2 separate regions of the Homo sapiens genome follow, and region 2 is linked to region 1. The links are contacts of gene promoters, found by promoter capture Hi-C in human tissues and cell types (Jung and others, 2019). All regions are on one chromosome and are shown on one strand. The core of a region is centred on a gene start or on the middle of the fragment in contact, and the rest is flanking DNA. Distances in the headings are between cores, read along the strand shown. Region 1 holds the start of ZBTB34 (zinc finger and BTB domain containing 34). Region 2 overlaps MAPKAP1 (MAPK associated protein 1).

Region 1 (5,419 bases), core at 916-3,415:
GAGTATTAAGACACAATGCCCTTAAAAAAACTCCCACTCCAGTTGGGACAAGAACAAGTTCAACAGCCAAGGAACAAGTGCTGAATCCGAGTGCCACAAAGCCATGGGGGCAGGGAAGTCAGGGAACACCCTCTGGAGGAAGTATATCTGCAGCAGGGGCTTGAAGGAAGTGAAATGGAGAATTTGCACAGAAAAGAAAAAGGAGGCCAGTGCTTCAGAAGGGGGAACAACAGAAGCAAAACCCAAGAAGCCGTAACTAACTCAGTTCTGCAGGGGACAGACTTGGAGAAGCAGAGAATAAGGTTCAGGTAGGTGGGGTGGGGCCAAACCACGGAGAGTCTTGAAAAGACAGGGTGGGCGGTGGCTGGACATACCGTGGCAGGCAAGAGGCCACTACTCAGCTTTGAACAGTGGTATAACTGCCGTGGCCTCTTAACTGATCTCCTGGCCTCTAGCTTCTTCACCAATGCCTTCAGTAGTTTCAACTTTGACCTAGTGTTTGAGTTGAGGAACTAGCCGCGGCCCACCTCTCCTCCTACTTCCCTCCTATATGAACCCTTCTCTGCCAGGAGACTGGTCTATTCACTAACTCCATAGGATCACTGGGCCTGATTCCTCTTTTCCTATCTGAATGCTACTCATCCTTTAACACCCGGCTCAAATCCCGCCCCTCACTAAACCCTCCCTAACCACTCGGCCTACAGTGACCTCCATCTCTCCTTCTTAATTCTACAGCACACAGCCTTGTCTCATCAAAATTACCTTTTCATAAGTAATGTCTCAGCACCCTGTGTAAAGCTGCCTGGAGACTGTAAGTGTGCCTTCTACTACTTTCCCACCACATGGAACAGCATCTTGCCATTTAATAAGCAAGCAAGCACTCAACTATTTTTTGACTTCCTATAGTAAGTTTGGCTTTAGCATAAAGGAAGGATGGGGGAGGGGGGAACCTCTGGAGTCAGCGACCAGCTTAGAAGCTGTTGCAATAATCCAGATGTGAAGCAAAGAGGGCCTGGACTAGGGAACAAAGAGAAAATGGGCAAATATAAACAACAAAAAATTCTGCATGCAAAAACTCGGCGGAATGTGATTAACTACTACTAGGGACAAAAGCAAGGGATGAATGAGGATTAAGGTGAGGTTTAGAAAACGCTTCTTGAAATCATTTTAAAGCCTGTCTGAAACAAAATGCAGTAAGTGGCTTAAAAAGTCCACACTGACAAAGTCTTCAGCGAAACTGCCCAGTATCTTGAATCAGGGACAGCCCTTCCAATTTGAGACATACACGGAATGGCAGAGCCAGAAGGGTTCTTAGAGAGTTAAATGAAACCCTCAATGATCACATGGGGAAACTGAGTCCTAGCATGGAAGGGGCTTGCGGAAGGCCTCAAGACAGAGACTCCCAGACGAGTGCCGCCCTGAAAGCACAGCCACTTGGCCTAGAAGGGCACTGTTTACAACCCCGGTCAGCCCCAGCCCAGCCCTCCGCAATGGCAGGACCAACTGAGCGCGAGTGGCCACGGAGACGTCTGGGGCCAAGCGCAACCCGTCGCCGCCGCCTGTTTACCTGGAGGAAGGCGGTGGCGTGAGGCAGCGGCTCCGTGGCAGCCACCCGAAGGGCCGACCCCTGGCCCGGCCGGCTCTCCAGGGAACTCAACCATCTGCCCTCCCTCCCCGTACAAAAGGGAGCGCCCCCAGGGCTAGGGGCCCGGAAGCTGGGGATCCCGAGACGCCCCGGGCGGAGGCTGGGAGCCCAGGGCAGCTGCCCGAGCGCGACCCTCAGCCGGGCCAGCGGCGCCGGGACTCCAGGACCGAGCACAGCTGGCCCCTCGGGGACGCGCGCCTGACCCCAGCAGGTGCCCGGGGCCTCCGGACCCCGCCCGGCCTCGGCTCCCGCCCGCGCCGGCCGCCTGCCCGCGGGACTGACCAGGCGCGGAGGCTCCCGCCCCGCCGCGCCCAGAGGGAGCCGGACAGCGGCCCGGGGACTGCCCCCCGCCCCGCCTGCCCCGCCTGCCCCGCCCGCGCCTAGCCCGCTGCTCGCCGCCCCCGGCCAGCGTGCCTCACCTGTCCAGAGCGCCGCGCTCACATCGCCCGCCCGCGGCGCCCCCTCCGCCGCCGCCGGCGCCAGGCCAGTCCCCGCCGCTCCGGCTGCCGCCCCAGCCCGCGCCCCCCGCCCCCGGAAGCGCTTCCCGGCCCCGCCCCCTGGACGCCCGCGCTTCCGGGCAGGCGCCAACCCGGGTGGTGGCGTTGCGCGGCGGACCTCTAGCCAGGGCCCGGGGTCCTGAGTCCCGCCCGGTTGTCGTCCCAGAGCCTCGCCGCGGGCTAGCGGCAGCCTTGGTCTGGACCCCGGAGTCCCGACTCCGGGAAGCGGCGTCGGCTCTGCCTTCAGCCCGCGCTCTCCTCGGCGCCCCCTGCTGGCGGGAGAAGGGCGGTGCAGTGGGGCGCGTTTCAGGGGCTCCCGGAATCGAACGGGTGGGAGAGAGCCCAGGACCCTCGACCCCCCCAGCACTGGGGGGCCTGCCCCCAGCCCAGCCCTCCCTTCCAAGACCCTCCCTCCTGCATCTCTTCAGGCGCATGCCACGCACCCGAGCTGCTCCTGGCAGGGCAGCTGAAGGCAGCAAGGTGCAGTGGTTAGCAGCAGGGCTCTGGGGACCTGTCATAGGGGGTCTCTTGACTTACCACCTTGGGCAGGTTTTCTCTCTCTCAAAACGGAGGTGGCTCCCGCCTGTAATCCCAGCACTTTGGGAGGGCGAGGCGGGAGGATCACTTGATCCTAGGAGTTTGAGACCAGCCTGGGCAACATAGGGAGGCCCCATTTAAATTTTTAAAACTTAGCCAGGCTTGGTGGCACATGCCTGTAGTTCCAGCTATTGGGGAGGCTGAGGTGGGAGGGTCGCTTGAGTCCGGGAGGTCGAGGCTGCGATGAGCCATGATCGTGTCACTGTACTTCAGCAGTGGTGAAAGAGCAAGACCCTGTCTCAAAAACAAAACGGAGGTGAAAATTCCCAACTCACTGTTATAAAACCCATGTCACAGAGCATGCCTCAAAAAATGTGCATTTCCAGACCCTTGGGGACACCCCAGTCTTCAAACCGTTGGGTGGGAGTGGGAGCCTCACCCAGCGTTTTCCTCCCAGCATTAGACCAATGTAACACTCTTTGAAGAGCTTCCCTTTGCATTTTGGTGGAGTCAGTAGTTGTGGCAGAGGTTTATTTTCCTTTTTCTGGCTTTGTAATAAAAATAAACTAGGAGGCAAAGATACCAGCTCCTCTTCAGGATAGAAAGCTGCTGAGACTTCCTGATGTTACTTCATCCTTTGCAAGCAGGAACTGTCTCTCCAGGATCTGTCCAGTGGTCATCCTCCAATAGCAACAGCTACCCTTTGTCAAACACTCCATGCAGGGCACTGTGTAGACACTTGACAGCCATGACCTCATTTAACACAACCTAAGGAGGTGGCGATCTATTCCCATTTTAATCCAAGAGGGAACTGAGGCTCAGAGAGGTTGAGTGACTTATCCAAAGTCACACAGCTAGTAAATGGCAGACTTGGGATGAACTCCCTTGTCTCTCTGACTTCTTATAGCAACAGAACATCCAAGCATAGGATTTTAGGCAACCTGCCTATAACTGCAGGCACCTGGGCAGACAGGTAGTCTCGCTCTTGAATTGCTATTGCACTTGAGTTGTTTTCTTGAGATCTGTCCCCAAGGGTGAGATACGTGTGCACCCAGGGCACAGGAATACATCATCTTGTCAGGTTTCCTCCGGACTGCTGAGCTGATTCTTATGCCCAGAGGTTTTCCTACAGATCAGCCTTGGGCCTCATCATTTTAACTGATTTTTGCTAAATTCGTTGATAAGAGTTAGGGTCTTCTTGGCTGTGACACAATATTTGCATATCATTAAGTACTATAAAGACTAAAATAGTTCCTGAGTTTTTGACCCTCCTCTGCCAAGTGTCTCAAAGTTGTTGGCCCTCTGTCTGTCCATTGGATGCTGGGTATTTCCCTCATAGTTTATATTTACTCTCCCACCTAACTGGGTCACCAAACTCATCATTTATATATTTTTCCAGCCCCTTGCTTTTTTCGTTCTTGTTGTTTAGCTGATTGTCATGGTCTCTACTAATTTTAGTTAAAAAACTGTCACTCCTCCACAGTTGAGGTGCATATGTGTTTCTGTTTTCCCATAATCTTTGTGGCAGTTTTAAATGATTTAACTCGTTAGCTCCCTTGAAATCAAGAAGTCTAGGGAGTGATGTACAAGTCTCATTTTAATTTATTCCACACTTACCCATTTTCCTCAGCAGCATTTATGAAATGATCCAATTCACATTTTGTTGAAGTTTGGGGTTGCCCTTCAATCCACAGTTAAGAAGGAGTTTTCTGGCCAGGTGGGGTGGCTCATGCCTGTAATCCCAAACACTTTGGGAGGTTGAGACAGGAGGATCACTTGAGTCCAGGAGTGTGAGACCAGCCTGGGCAATATAGTGAAACCTCATCTCTACAAAAAAGAAAAAAAAAAAAGCTGAGTGTGGTGCCACGTGGCTGTGGTCTCGGCTACTTGGGAGGCTGAGGTGGAGGATCGCGTGAGCCCTGGAGGTCAAGGCTGCAGTGAGCCATGATCACCACACTGCACTCCCGCCTGGGCATCAGTGTAAGACCCTCTCTTAAAAAAAAAAAAAAAGGTGTGGGGCTTCCCATCGTGGGGGTCAGCCTATGTGAGGGTGATGGCTGATAGCTTACCAATACTTGTGTTCTGCCTTTTCTTCTTCCACAGCACATGGCTAAAACACATCTCCAGCCTCCTCGCCATGTCATGTGTTAATTGAGGTAGCCTGTGAAGTGCTTGGCATGTGTGAGTCTGCCGTAAAAGTTAATTCCCTTCCCATTCTTTCCTCTTCTCCCCCTCCTTGGACAGATACGGCCTGAATCTCCGCTTCTCATTGATTCCAGATTCCTGAGCACTTGGAGAGCCAAGATAGCCAGGTTATAACTGGTCCCAGCTTCTCCTTCTGGCCTCCACAAGGGACCCTTTCTGCCAGAAGTCCAGCTGCAGGACTTGGCTCTGGTCCACCTGGCAATCCTCAGAGTTTGGCAAAACCTGTTGACTGTTGGCACCTGTTAGTCTTTATACACACACATAACTCATGTGTCTCCCTTAAACAAAATATATGAATTATTTGCGGTTTCCTCATTCTTCCTCCTCTAATCAGGACCCACTAGTGTGTCCCTTCCACATGCCTCACTACCTGAACAGTACCGTCGAAGGGGGAGCCTGTCTCTCCAAACAGTCCCAAGATGTCCACTGACTTCCAGATCATTCCAGTAGGTCAGGGTTCCTTCTACCTGGCTGCCTCTGCAGAGGAGGGTGAACATTCCTCATGGGTCAGGGAGAGCACTTCCTTGGAGAACCC
Region 2 (5,527 bases), core at 1,919-4,418, 1.4 Mb after region 1:
ATGAGAAGGAGCTTGGGGTGTTTAGGAATGAATAAATGGAATGGAATGAGGGAGAGTGTGCTGAAAGATGAGACTGAGGGATAGCAAGGGTCTAAGATGCAGAGCCTCGTAGGCCCCGCTTCCATGATCTGCTCTTTTTCGAAATTCTACAAACCTGAAACTGTTTCTTTCTGACTACCTCATAAAACAAGATTACCTTGATTTATTGAAGGGGGTCTGAAATCTCCATGTGGAAAGTCCTCCAGCCTGGCTGGCTCTGGCTCCAAGAGTTTAATCAATTAAGCACTGACAGCAAAGATCCCTACCCCGGTGGTAGCATGGCAGATTCTAGTGAAGGGTATATCCTACTGCGTGATCCCGATGGCTTTAAAGAGATTACTGCAGAGCGGTGGGCAGGCGGGGGGCATGAACGTGTGTGTGTGTTTTAGTATATCACCTATTGATTGTTTTTTAGAGACCAGCAAAAATAACTAGTAGCCAAAGGGAAGTGTTTAATAGAAGAGAAGTTTTGGGCTTATGGGGCTTTGGGGACTTAAAAGGCCTCTGGAAAAAAAAATGTGATGGATGCAGAGCGCTAAGGAAGAGTTTTCTCTGTGACTCACTTATGCATCCAGCTTTAAGTCTTACCGAGGGAGTGGAGAGTTAGGTTTTATCCCTGATTCCTTTGCTCTGGCATGGCCAGGCGTGACTGTGTTCTCCTTAGATACCATTACAGCCCATGGAGTTATGCATTTCCAGCCCATCTGAGGAACATTTTTACTCACAGAGGTTGTGTGGTGGTTAAAGGTGCAATTTTGGAATTAGACCTGGGTTCAGTTCCTAGCTCCAGCTTGTACTGTTTGTATGACTACTGTAGCAGAATGACATTCTGAGTCTCATTTTTCTCACCTGTAAAAAGAGGATAATATCCAACTTAAAGAGGCATTGGGAAAAATGGAATGAGATGACGTCTTTAAAATGCTGAGCATCGTGCTGGCATGCGTTAAGCACTTAGTGTGTGTTAGCCACCGTCACAGTTGTTGAGGCAGAACCCCTGTCCTTGACAAACCTAGTCTGTTGGGGAGTCTGAATGGAAAACGAGGAAAGGTATGTTAGGTGCTGTTAGCCAAGGTAAATACAAGGGGTGGTGTACAAACCTCAGGTGCTGTTAATGGTTAACCTGTGTTGCATCACACTTCACTTGTTCCATCAGCAGCATTTATTGAACATCTACTGTGTGACCATGTGCTTTGTAGAATGGGATGTTCCTGCCCTCAGGCTCCTTGTCTGGAGGGGAGTGCAAATACTTACCATGTAAGATACTTACCAGAAGAACCTTCAATAAAGGGCTATAATGCTTTAGGAGAGAGACAGGGGAGGTTCCATTTGGACTAGACCTTGAAGCATATAAATTTTAGAGCATAAAGGACATTCTGACCAAATGGTAGAACCTGAGCAGAGTCCAGTTTAGCTGAAGCAGGGCTTCTGCGTGGGGAGTAGCAATAAGACTTCAAGATAGAGTGGAGCAGAGAAGGGTTTATGTACTTCTCATTGTCAGTCACTTGTACTATTTTACTTAATTGTGTGCCAGGTGCTGAGCTAGATACTGCTCCACTTTTGAAGAACTACTCCCACCCCCACCATTTTCTTTTCCACCATTCCGCTTCACACACTGTGCCAAAGGCAAACACTTGGTGTTCCCTGTGTAGGTCCTCATGCTTTGTGGACTTTATGTTTTTTCCTATATTCCTCCATGGATTGCCTGTCCTCCTTTCATCATCTGGGAACACTGCCATCCCCCTAAATTCCGGAAGCACTAGCACAGCACCTGGCATATGGCTGGAGCTAAGTAACTGCTAGTCTAGAAGAAACAGTCAACAGGATTGTGCTATGGACAAAGGTGAGGATATAACAGAGGCCACTGATCTTCCAGTTGAGTTCTAGAGTTGGCATAGATCTTTTTAGAGAAGAGACACTGAAGTTGCTTTAATTTATAACTAGATTGGGGCCTTTTAGACTTGGTGTAAGACTCCTTGAACCATAAAATGAATGTTAAAGTCCCATGCAGTTTGTATCTATGAGTACAAGGAATCTTCCAGTAATATACGGTGAGTTCATCTGAGCTATGATTTAATGATTAGTCCTATTTGTTTGAAATAAAGTCATATAACTCTAAGTGTCTCCCTCAGTTCCAATTAAATCACATCTATGAAAACACTTTTAAAACTATAAAACAGTATTTATAATTAGCCTTGGTCTGATCACCTGAAAGTAAACCTATTGCTTTTATGTGTGTACAGGCTTTGCAGCTGTGTTTGTTGTCAGATTATAACACATATACACAGCTATAACTGCACTTTCGTTTCCCATTATTATTGTCCAAATAGATATCAGGGGCAATGAAAACATGGCATTATAACCAATAAAGTCAGCAGTTCTCAAACTTTTTGGTTTTAGGACCTCTTTATACTCTTAAAAGTTATTGAAGACCCAAAGAGCTTTTGTTTTGTTTTGTTATTTTGAGGCGAGGTATTGCCCTGTCGCCAGGTCTCGCCCAGGATGGAGTGCAGTGGCAAATCAGCTCACTGTAGCCTCAAACTCCTGGGCTCAAGTGATCCTCTCATCTCTACCTCCCGAGCAGCTGGGACTACAGGTGTGCACCACCATGCCCAGCTGACTTTTTTTTTTTTTTTTTTAACTTTCAGTAGAGATAAAGTCTCACTATGTTGCTCAGGCTGCTCTTCAACTCCTGGCCTCAAACAGTGCTCCCGCTTTGGCTTCCCAAACTGCTGGTATTACAGGTGTGAGGCACTGCACCTGGCCAAGCTTTTGTTTATTGAGTTACATCTATTAAAAATTGATTAATTTTAAAATATTTATTGAAAAACAGTAATTTCATTAATGTTAATGACAGTTTTATGTTTTTTTGTTTTTTTTTGTTTTTTTGGTTTTTTTTGAGATAGGGTCTCTGTCACAAGGCTAGAATGCAGTAGTACAATCACAGCTCACTGCAACCTCCACCTCCTAGGCTCAAGCGATCCTCCCACCTCGGCTTCCCCAGTAGCTGGGCCTATCGGAGCACACCACTAAGCCTGGCTGCTTTTTTTTTGTATTTTTTGTAGAGATGGGGTTTTGCCATGTTGCCCAGGCTGGTTTTAAACTCCTGGACTCAAGTAATTCACCTGCCTTGGCCTCCAGAAGTGCCGGGATTACAGGGGTGAGCCACCATGCCTGGCCCAAATGACAAATTTTATGAAAAGTAACTATAATTTCTTTAAAAAAAATTTTTTTGAGACAGGGTCTCACTCTGTTACCCAGGCTAGAGTGCAGTGGCGTGATCACAGCTCACTGTAGCCTCAACCTCCTGGGCTCAAGTGATCATCCCACCTCATCCTCAGTAGCTGGGAGTACAGGCATGAGCCACCAAACCCAGCTAATTTTTGTATTTTTTGTAGAGTCAGAGTTTTGCCGTGTTGCACAGGGTGGTCTCAAACTCCTAGACTCAAGCAATCCACCCACCTCAGCCTCCCAAAGTGCTGGAATTATATTCATAAGCCACCGCACCTGGCCTAAATTTTTTTTTTTTTTTTTTGAGACGGAGTCTTGCTCTGTCGCCCAGGCTGGAGTGCAGTGGTGTAATCTCAGCTCTCACTTCAGCCTCCGCCTACTGGCTTCAAGCGATTCTCCTGCCTCAGCCTCCAGAGTAGCTGAGATTACAGGCATGCCCCGCCATCCTCAGCTAATTTTTTGTATTTTTATAGAGACGAGGTTTCACCATGTTGGCCAGGGTGGTCTCAAATTCCTGACCTCAAGTGGTCCGCCCACCTTGGCCTCCCAAAGTGCTGGGATTACAGGTGTGAGCCACTGCACCTAGCCAGGCCTAAAATTTTTAATGAGAAGAGTGTCATTATTTTATTATATTGCAAGTTTCTGTAATGTCTGGGCTTATAGAAGACACCTGGATTTTCATATCTGCCTCTGCATTCAGTCCGCTGCAATACATTGCTTTGGTTAAAGTATGTGAAGAAAATTTGGCCTGACACAGATATGTTGTTGAAAAAGGGAAGAATATTTCAATAGCCTTTTCAGATAATTGTGGGTATTAATTTTTGTTACTATACCAAAACTCAAATGATAGTTTCTATTTTGTTGTTGTTTTTTTGTTGGTTTGTTTTGTTTTGTTTTGTTTTTTGAGACAGAGTTTCGTTCTTGTTGCCCAGGCTGGAGTGCAGTGGCGCAATCTTGGTTCACTGCAACCTCTGCCTCCCGGGTGTAAGCGATTTTCCTGCCTCAGCCTCCCAAGTAGCTAAGATTACAGGCGTATGCCACCATACCCAGCTGATTTTGTATTTTTAGTAGAAACGGGGTTTCACCATGTTGGTCAGGCTGGTCTCGAACTCTTGACCTCAGGTGATCCACCCACCTCGGCCTCCCAAAATGGTGGGATTACAGGTGTGAGCTACTGCGCCCAGCCAAGCTTTTTATTCCTTTGTGCACTTGTAAGAGAATGGACATGAAAAAAGTAAGTCATGTCTTGCTGTTGTTATAAAAATAGTATTGCAATTATGGACCCTGAAGGGGACTTGGGAATTCCCCACCACCACCACCACCATAGGACCCAGTGTGCACTTTGAGAACCACTAATTTAGAATTTACAGTTATTCGACTCAACAGTCTATTACAGTGCTGTTGCTGTAGGAGTGTGGTGAGGTAGGCAGGGCAGGAGCAGCCTTTAACCACTTGAGGGAAGGGAAAGGAGAAGGCACGTGGACTCCAGAGTCCAACAGATCTGTCCCGGTTTCACCTTTCCTAACAGTGGAACCCTGGGCAAGGTTTTGACCCAGTCTTGACACTTTGAGTGACAGTTTGAATCTCTATCTCTGTACTCTTATATTCCATGTTCTTTCTAATGTTATTAATCCCCAAGGCTGCCTCCCAGCACCTTCTCTTTCTTTCTTGGCTGCAGGCCCTAGACTCCACCTGCCTCCTTCCTCAACTCCTCTCTGCTTCCCTTTGCCTGCCGTGGCCTCTTCTTGCCATTCTTCACTGAAGACAGGTGTGAGGCCTCATTCCTCAGTTCTCCTTTCCTGATTTTGTATTCCCGAGACTTAAGCTGCTTCTCCTCCTGGGTTTTCTGCTTGTCCTCCATACCTTCCTACATTGTGATTGTCATTCTTCTGGAGCCTTGTTGTCAGTCCATTTGAGCTGTGGTGCTCAAGTCACTATTAGGCCCCACCCCAAAATTTGATCTATCACAATACATCTTTGAGTTATTGCAGCTTGAGCGTTTTGACACAATACATTATGGTAATCCGTGGCTTATAGAGACATTAACCCTCCCGACTTTGACAAAATACATTGTGAAGTCTTTGAAGGCACCATAACAATTTATCTTGTCATTCACGAGGAGACCCAGTTCAGCATTAATGTAGATGAACACAGTGTGGCTTTTGTTTCATTTAATTGCTTGTGACCTTTTTATTTGCTAATTTAACAAAATACCAATGGGTTATATTTCAGTTAAATTAACAGGGAGTAGTTTTTGTTT

What was found. Contacts are between HindIII fragments. The study calls those that stand out against the background at their distance.
Region 2: a contact is called between a fragment that was not itself captured here and the fragment with the promoter of ZBTB34 in region 1, in 1 of the 25 tissues and cell types used here (dorsolateral prefrontal cortex).

What each region holds. Positions count from the first base shown.
Region 1 is chr9:126,857,385-126,862,803 of GRCh38, reverse strand. It overlaps ZBTB34 (zinc finger and BTB domain containing 34), which reads right to left and starts at 2,165. Exons shown (of 2, transcript NM_001099270.4): 1 at 2,065-2,165. RefSeq lists silencers at 1,647-1,866, 1,977-2,026, 2,037-2,116, 2,147-2,546 and an enhancer at 1,225-2,022. The HindIII fragment of the contact is 9,457 bases long and covers 1-5,419 here.
Region 2 is chr9:125,489,184-125,494,710 of GRCh38, reverse strand. All of the region lies in intron 8 of MAPKAP1 (MAPK associated protein 1), which reads left to right. Among named protein-coding and RNA genes, the nearest start is that of MAPKAP1, 220 kb to the left of the region's middle. The HindIII fragment of the contact is 6,822 bases long and covers 1-5,527 here.